2 separate regions of the Homo sapiens genome follow, and region 2 is linked to region 1. The links are contacts of gene promoters, found by promoter capture Hi-C in human tissues and cell types (Jung and others, 2019). All regions are on one chromosome and are shown on one strand. Each heading gives the region's core, a stretch centred on a gene start or on the middle of the fragment in contact. The rest is flanking DNA. Distances are from core to core; before and after follow the strand shown. Region 1 holds the start of LEAP2 (liver enriched antimicrobial peptide 2). Region 2 overlaps MIR3936HG (MIR3936 host gene).

Region 1 (4,077 bases), core at 682-3,181:
GAAAGTTTAGAGTGTCAAACATGCGTTTAATGTGTATTTTTAAACAAATTTATGGCAATTAAAATATTTGGAGACAAGGGTATCACATTTCAATTTGTAAAGATCTTTTTAACTCTACTGTGTCATTAAGATGCTTTGTACAATGCCAAACCATAGTTGGAGAAACTAAGTTTAATAAATATCAAATAGATTTTCTGTATTAAAGTTACTGAACACTGTACTCTTTATATTTCTTCAACTCTGAGCCCTTTTCATGCAATTCCTGTTTTGTGTCTTAAGGTCCGTTACTACTCTTTAAAAGTCTGTTCCCACCAGCTGAGGTCTCATTTTCTGATTACAGAAATTCTGAACTTGCTGGCCATGGGTCCTTGTGCATATGTCAAAATTCACCTTGTCCCAACAGAAATCTTAAATCTCTTTTGGTGCTTTTGGTGGCTTGGGCTTTCATTGCTTTATTAAACTAGATTTTTCTCTCTGTTCTGCCTTATCTTCAGACAGCCATAGACAAACCTGGGTGCTTCATTAGATGGCAAGTGCTTGACCATCTTTTTTTTTTTTTTTTTTTTTTGAGACAGAGTCTCTCTATGTCACCCAGGCTGGGGTGCAGTGGCATGATCTTGGCTCACTGCAACCTCCACCTCCCAGGTTCAAGTGATTCTCCTGCCTCAGCCTCCCAAGCTTGACCACCTTTGACACCTCCCTGAAGAGTATGGAGTGAAGGGATCCAGGGCCACAGCTTAGGAACTTGCTGAAGTTGATTACGTAGCTATTGATTATGTAGCTCTCACTACACTTTCCAGATTGAGAAGTTAACACATTATTGGGCAATGCTGTTTTTTTCTTTAGTATACAAAATGAATCCTTCTTTCCCTCAAAAGCTTGAATTCCAGACTGCTAAAATTTCAATTTGAGACATTTAATAGTATCCATAGAAAAATAAACTCTAAATTGACAAGTTTAGTTATGCTTATCCATATATCAACATTCTAAGAAGAAATGGAGACCAATTTAAAGCGTACATCTGCCTTTAAATATTAAAAATACAAGATTGCTTCACTTGGGTGTCTCCAGCCAAAATGCAGTTAATCAATATTCCATAGAACGGAGCATTGTCGGAGGTGACTGCTGTCCTTTCTTTCCCTGGTATGTACATCATTCCTGGGCCACACTTAAGGAACAGCGTCTTTTTCTAGGGGAAAAGAAAGGGTAGTTTTTTAAGACTGGGTCTAGGAATGACCAGGGCCACCTATGCTGCATTTCCTTCCTCTTTGCTTGATCTGTCCAGTCTCAGGAAAGACTGAAGAATGGAAAGGCACCACTCTTTCATGGTACCCACATAGAGCTGTTCTTGGCTCCTAACTCCTAAGGGATTTTCCATGGAGCTCCCAGTCTCAGTCTAGAACTCCTCCATCCCAGCTTTATTCTTAGGTTCATGTGTCCCCTTGTCACTCCTCTGCCCAGCTTCCCAGGGCTCTCTGGCCCAACCCTGCTCCCAGGTTCAGGGAGTACCTGCATAGCCTTGTGATACACTCAGAATCATCCCGGCAGGAGGCTCCAATAGGCCTGAGGGAAACCCCTCTCCAAAATGGGGTCATTCTCCGTGGCCTTCTCTTTGCCGAACTCACTTCTGGTATTGGGGAGCCATCTATCTGTAAGGGCAAAGACATTCAGATATGAAAGTGTTGACACCCTGCTGCACACCTTGGAAGAGTGATCATTCCATTCCGCAGATGCTGTAGACTCAGAACAGAGGAACCATTCCTCAGGACTGAATCTAGCTTTCAAGTTCCACCACCACTATCATCTCCACACTCCACACACACACATAAGTATCCTTCCCTCCTTACCTGGCCCAACAGCAACAGGAAGATCATGAGGACTGCACAAAGTTTGAGGTGCCACATCTTGACAGGGGGAGGATGTTGGAGCCTGAAAGCCAGGGACAGTTCCTACTTCCTTTTATAGACTGACATCAACTCTTGCATTGTTACTGGGTGAGATGGGGGCAAAGTTTATATTTGTAATCAGAATCAATTTAATAAGTTAATGTCTACCGGAGGAATGTGCTCAAGGGCCACCTTTCAGGCACGTTGTATTTACTGATCCCTCATCTGGACTTTGAGTGATTGTGTTGCTGGCATGGACCCTTTCGCCCATTTTACCAAAAGTCAGCACTGCCCTTCCTTCCCTTTGAAAGCCACGTGAAACCATTGAGGGAGGTCAGGCAACTAGCCACATTTCTATTCCAAAATAGCTCAGTGAGATCACTCCCATAGAATTCCAATAATGAAGTCTTCAGAAATAATGTTGGCCCCTTTCAGCCTTGTCTAGGAAAGAAGCACTGATCTATTGTGTACAGCCAATTGGATAAGGCCCTTATCTCCTTTCTGTGGGAGGATGCTTCAGCAAGGCCTACAGTTCCCCAGATCGTCCACTTGCTTAGATGGACTGTCACCCTAATCTGCACCTCTTTATCTCACTAGTAAAATGAAGACCCAGCTGTGGAAAGTTCAAAGTCTGGCCTCCTGCCCTCTCAGGGGAATGGCTGGATGTGAGACTTATTTGGACCACAGGTGAATTGAATAATTATAGGTTTCTTTTTGTTTTTAAGCACATGTAGATGAGGAGGTAACAAGATCTCCTAAATCAGAGGGAGAGCTTGTGTAGTGACTGTATTAAAAGCCTTGAATTATGGGCTTTCTTCCCAGTAGTTGAGTGGGGCCTTTCCTTCCGGCAGCTTCAGGGCAACAGGCATAGGGATGAGATACCTCCAAAGCCCAAAGCATCCATCAGTTTAAGTAGGAACTGCTGCAGATTTCTAGACCAAGGGAGGACATGTATCTAAACGATGGGTAGTTATGGGTACTCGTGAAATGACATGGGCATTTTAAGTTTGAGGGGAAAGCTGTGAATTCTGAGTAAGGAGACTGATTGGACTTTAGATCTTCCTATGACCTGGGAGGATAATAAGCTTAAGACAAAGACAACAAATTCTTTCTGCCGGGCATCATACTGAAAACTTGGCTAATACCTCTTCCCAAGGGCCGTCTCATCTTCACAGGTTGGGTATTTGGATAAGAACCTGCTTGTTCCTTTACTCCAGGAAAACGTGGAGGAGATGCACAACAGCTGAAGGTAGAAAAGGATGGCCACTGACCCTGCTGCCAGTCAGACAGAGGGAGCTTCTTGCCAAGGGAGAAGCAGATGGTTTGATGGACCTCAGAGCTGGAATTGGGCAGGATGTGACCACAGATCTGACTGTCCTGATTCTAGTCCTCTCAGAATCATGGAGCCAGGCCTTGAGGGGGATGCCACTGCATGCACTTTAGGAACATTGAGAAGAGACCTATATACCAACGAACCAGTTGAGACTAGTTCTCTGCTCCCTCCCTTCACCCCTAAGCTTGGATACTGGATGATCCCAGACAGGTGCCTAAACTGGGAACTTTTGCTGGGAGGGGAAGTGGCTATGTGGGTGACCTAGTGAGCACTGGGTAAGAACACAAATGATTAGATAAGCAAAGGACTGAACAACGTGATGTCCTAGAGCCAGTTGGGTCTGTGGCCTCAGTGTCAGCCTCCCCTTTACCAGTCTAGAGTGATGTGCCAAATGGGATTTGGAAACTGTTCATCCAAAAGATGAGTAATTCTCCTAATCCTCCATTTCTGCCTTCCTGTACTTCTAGCAGGATCAAACTAGCATGGTGTTAATTTGTAAAGCTGATAACACAGTCAAGGAAAGAAAGAGCTTGAAGCCCTTGCCCCTCTGTGTGTAGGCGGAAAGGACCATTCATCCTCATGAGTGTGACAACATTGCAGAGGCCTTTGGTTCAAGCCTCTATGTTGTATGCCACCCTCTCCCCAAAAGAAAAAACCATTAGTCACTGTCTGTGGAAGGAACCACTGTTGGGGAAGGGGAAAGTATTTTAACATGTCTACGTGAATGCTAGTTGTTTTAGTTAAGTATGGAGCAAAAATCAAACTCAAAGCAACATCCAGGCAGCAGTTAGCTGAATTGGCAGTATTTGTCCACAGCCATCCCATACTTGAGAGACTGTGAAGGCCTCTTCTTGAAAT
Region 2 (4,077 bases), core at 645-3,144, 520 kb after region 1:
TGAAGGGGCGTAGGAGCAGCCTTAATGAAGAAGGATTGGCTGGGGGCTAACAGAATGCAGGGAAGAAACTGGATTCTGCATATGTTGAAATTATGGCAAAAGATTTTATTGACAGATTGGATGTGGAGTACAAGAGGAAGAGCAGCCAGGAAAATAAAGTTTCCATTTACTGAGTTGGGGAGGACTTCAGGAAGAGCAGATTTGGGATGAAATTAGGAGCACATGTTAAATTTGACATGTTATGTTTGAGACACCTATTATATATCCAAGTGAGGATATCAAGTGGGCAGTTATTATGTGAGCCTGGAGTTCACTCTCTCTATGTGTTGGTGGTCATCAGTGCAGAGATGATATTTAAATCATGAGACTGGATTTTTTAAAAAGGAAGAGGACTGAAGACTAAGTTCTGGGCACTCCAATTTTGGGCAGTAGCGGAGATGAAGAAAAACCAGCACACTAGATGGTAAAGGAGCAGCCAACAAGGTAAGAGGAAAACCAAGCAAGTGTCATTTTTGTTGATTTTTTTGATACAGAGTCTCACTCTGTCACTCAGGCTGGAGTGCAATGACACAATCTCGGCTCACTATAACCTCTGCCTTCTGGGTCCAAGTGTTTTTCTTGCCTCAGCTTCCCAAGTAGCTGGGACTGCAGGTGTGTGCCACCACGCCTGGCGCAAGTGTCATGTAGAAAGCAGTTCAAGGATGAAAGAGAAATGAGTTTGTCAAATGCCTTGAGAGGTCAGGTAAGATGATGACTGTGAATTGACTATTGAATTCAGAAACATGCAGGTCACTGCGGACCTTGATAGAGGTGCTCTGGTGAAAGGTGAGGGCTAAAGCTTAATTGTAGTGGGGCCAAGTGAAAATTGGAAGAACAAAGTTGAAAGTAGCAAGTAGATATAGCAATCTTCCAAGGAGTTTCACTGCTAAGGGACAGGGAGAAATGGGGCAGGAGCTGACAGCAGAAACTGGGTCAAGAGAGAGCTTTTACAGCCTCTTTGCATACTGAATGGGAAAGATCCAGTAGAGAGGGAAAAGATTTATGATGGGGGAGTCAGGAGAATTGCTAGAGCAACATGTGCTCCTAATTTCATCCCAAATCTGCTCTTCCTGAAGTCCTCCCCAACTCAGTAAATGGAAACTTTATTTTCCTGGCTGCTCTTCCTCTCGTACTCCACATCCAATCTGTCAATAAAGTCTTTTGCCATAATTTCAACATATGTAGAATCCAGTTTCTTGCCTGTATTCTGTTAGCCCCCAGCCAATCCTTCTTCATTAAGGCTGCTCCTACGCCCCTTCAATCTACTCTCAGCATAGTAGTCAGGGCTATCTCAATTACATCATGTTACTTTTCTGCTGTTGGTAAGGGAGTAGGGGGTGGGGGAGGGGTAAGAAGTATATAAGGCTGGGGCCGGGCACAGTGGCTCACACCTATAATCCCAGCACTTTGGGAGGCTGAGGCAGGCCAATCACTTGAGCCCAGGAGTTCAGTACTAGCCTAGCCAACATGGCAAAACCCTGTCTCTACTAAAAATACAAAAATTAGCTGGGTATGGTGGTGCATGCCTGTAATCCTAGCTACTTCGGAGGCTGAGGCATGAGAATCGTTTGAACCTGGGAGGCAGAGGTTGCAGTGAGCCACTGCACTCCAGCGGGGAGGAGAGACCATTCAGGAGAAACGGGAGAAAAGACAGAGGGTGTGGGTACAGATGGAGTTAGGCTGGTGGATTATGCTGCTTGTAGAGGTTCTCTCCATTGCTTCTATTTTCTAGGTGAAATAGGAAGCCAAGGCACAGCTGAGGGTGATCATGGGGGAGGAGGTGATGGAGTTCTGAAGAGAAAGAAGGTCTTCCAGGATAGAGAATGAACCAGGGCAATTAGGATCCTCTTGAAGTCACTGATGGTCAGTTTAAAGTGAAACCAGTCAGATGGAATATATTTTCCATCTACATTTGGCTATGCAGGTGCTAGCAAGAAGTAGGAGGGAGGTTAGATTTAACCAGCTTTATAGTTTCCCACAAAAGCAAGGCAGATAAGAAAGGGGCAAGGAAGATGATTATGATGATTAAGCATGGAATTTAAGCTGGCCAAGAAGGGGTGTGAGGACATGAGTAAGATGAGAGATAGCAAAAACGTGGACATCTTTGCCAGGTATGGAGCCAAACACAGTATGCATTGTCTCATGTAATCCCCACCCAAATGGAATTGTTATCATCCCTCTTTACAGATGAAGAAGCTGAGTTTTAGGGAAGACTGTAACTTGCTCAAAGTCACACAGCTGATAGAGAAGTGACACACCCAGCATCAGGTCCTGGAACACTTGTCTCCAAAGGCTATGTACTTAGCCCTATTTGCTTTAACTGGAGTATTAGTGGGCATTACAAAAATTGATGCATATGTACAAAGGATGGTAATTTTGTCCAGTATGTTTTTGTTAATACTTTTCCAACTTGAGTTAATTTTAAGATTTTCTGTTGTACAGAATTCTTTAAAAGTTTATAGTAAAATCTATTTATCTTCAATTTCCTATTCATCTTAAAATTAAATGTCACCTATATTTTCTTCTAGCTTTTGATTTATTTACTCTTGGCTCTATTTTATTTACATTTATTACATTTGGCTCTTTAGTTGATCAGGAATTAATTTGGTATGTGGTTTATGGTGGGATACTATTTATTCCCCCAGTTTTTCCATTTTTACCAGTTCTTCAGCTTGTCGATTGTCCCAGCACCAGTCTTCAACAATGTATCATTTTCTTGATAATTTATAATTCATCTTTATCATATGTTACAATTTTTCAACACTTGGGTCTGTTTCTGTGATACCTCTTCTATTTCGTTGATTGATTTATCTTTTGTGTGTGTGTCTGTGTGTGTGTGTGTGTGTTTGTGTGTTTTCCAGGAAACCCAGAGTAGTGTAGTCATTGTGTGTTTTTATATATGTAAGAGAACATTTCCCCTTATCAATGATCTTTTTCAAAAATTTCTTAAACATATTACATATTTCTTTTTTCAGATGCTCTTTACAAATATTTTTTAACTTCTTAAAATATCTCATTGAGGATTCCGTTCCAAGATGGCCAAATAGGAACAGCTCTGGTCTGCAGCTCCCAGTGTGATCGACGCAGAAGACGGATGATTTCTGCATTTCCAACTGAGGTACCTGGTTCATCTTACTAGGACTGGTTGGACAGTGGGTGCAGCCCACGGAGGGTGAGCCGAAGCAGGGCAGGGCATCGCCTCACCTGGGAAGCGCAAGGAGTCAGGGGATTTCCTTTTCCTAGCCAAGGGAAGCCGTGACAGATGGTACCTGGAAAAACGGGACACTCCTGCCCAAATACTGCGCTTTTCCAAAGTCTTAGCAAATGGCACACCAGGAGATTATATCCTGTGCCTGGCTCGACAGATCCTATGTCCATGGAGCCTTGCTCACTGCTAGTGCAACAGTCTGAGATTGACCTGCAAGGCAGCAACCTGGCATGGGGAGGGGCATCCGCCATTGCTGAGGCTTGAGTAGGTAAATAAAGTGGCTGTGGAAGCTCGAACTGGGTGGAGCCCACCACAGCTCAGCAAGGCTGACTGCCTCTGTAGTCTCCACCTCTGGGGCAGGGCATAGCTGAACAAAAAGCAGCAGAAACTTCTGCAGACTTAAACATCCCTGTCTGACAGCTCTGAAGAGAGCAGTGGTTCTCCCAGGATGGTGTTTTAGCTTGGAGAACAGACAGACTGCCTCCTCAAGTGGGTCCCTGACCCCCATGTAGCCTAACTGGGAGACACCTCCCAGTAGCCGACTGACACCTCATACAGGCAGGTGCCCCTCTGGGATGAAGCTTCCAGAGGAAGGATCACTCAGCAATATTTGCTGTTCTGCAATATTTGCTGTTCTGCAGCCTCTGATGGTGATACCCAGGCAAACAGGTCTGGAGTAGACCTCCAGCAAACTCCAACAGACCTGCAGCTGAGGGACCTCACTGGTAGAAGGAAAACTAACAAACAGAAAGAAATAGCATCAACATCAACAAAAAGGACATCCACACCAAAACCCCATCTGTAAGTTACCAACATCAAAGACCAAAGGT

The links. Contacts are between HindIII fragments. The study calls those that stand out against the background at their distance.
Region 2: a contact is called between a fragment that was not itself captured here and the fragment with the promoter of LEAP2 in region 1, in 2 of the 25 tissues and cell types used here (mesenchymal stem cells and spleen).

Annotation. Positions count from the first base shown.
Region 1 is chr5:132,871,522-132,875,598 of GRCh38, reverse strand. LEAP2 (liver enriched antimicrobial peptide 2) reads right to left here and starts at 1,931. Exons shown (of 3, transcript NM_052971.3): 1 at 1,848-1,931; 2 at 1,510-1,649; 3 at 553-1,189. The coding sequence starts at 1,904. The coding sequence ends at 1,153. AFF4 (ALF transcription elongation factor 4) reads left to right here. Exons shown (of 21, transcript NM_014423.4): 21 at 1-204. The HindIII fragment of the contact is 2,304 bases long and covers 1,926-4,077 here.
Region 2 is chr5:132,348,895-132,352,971 of GRCh38, reverse strand. MIR3936HG (MIR3936 host gene) reads left to right here. Exons shown (of 8, transcript NR_110997.1): 5 at 3,015-3,157. Among named protein-coding and RNA genes, the nearest start is that of MIR3936, 15 kb to the left of the region's middle. The HindIII fragment of the contact is 5,583 bases long and covers 1-4,077 here.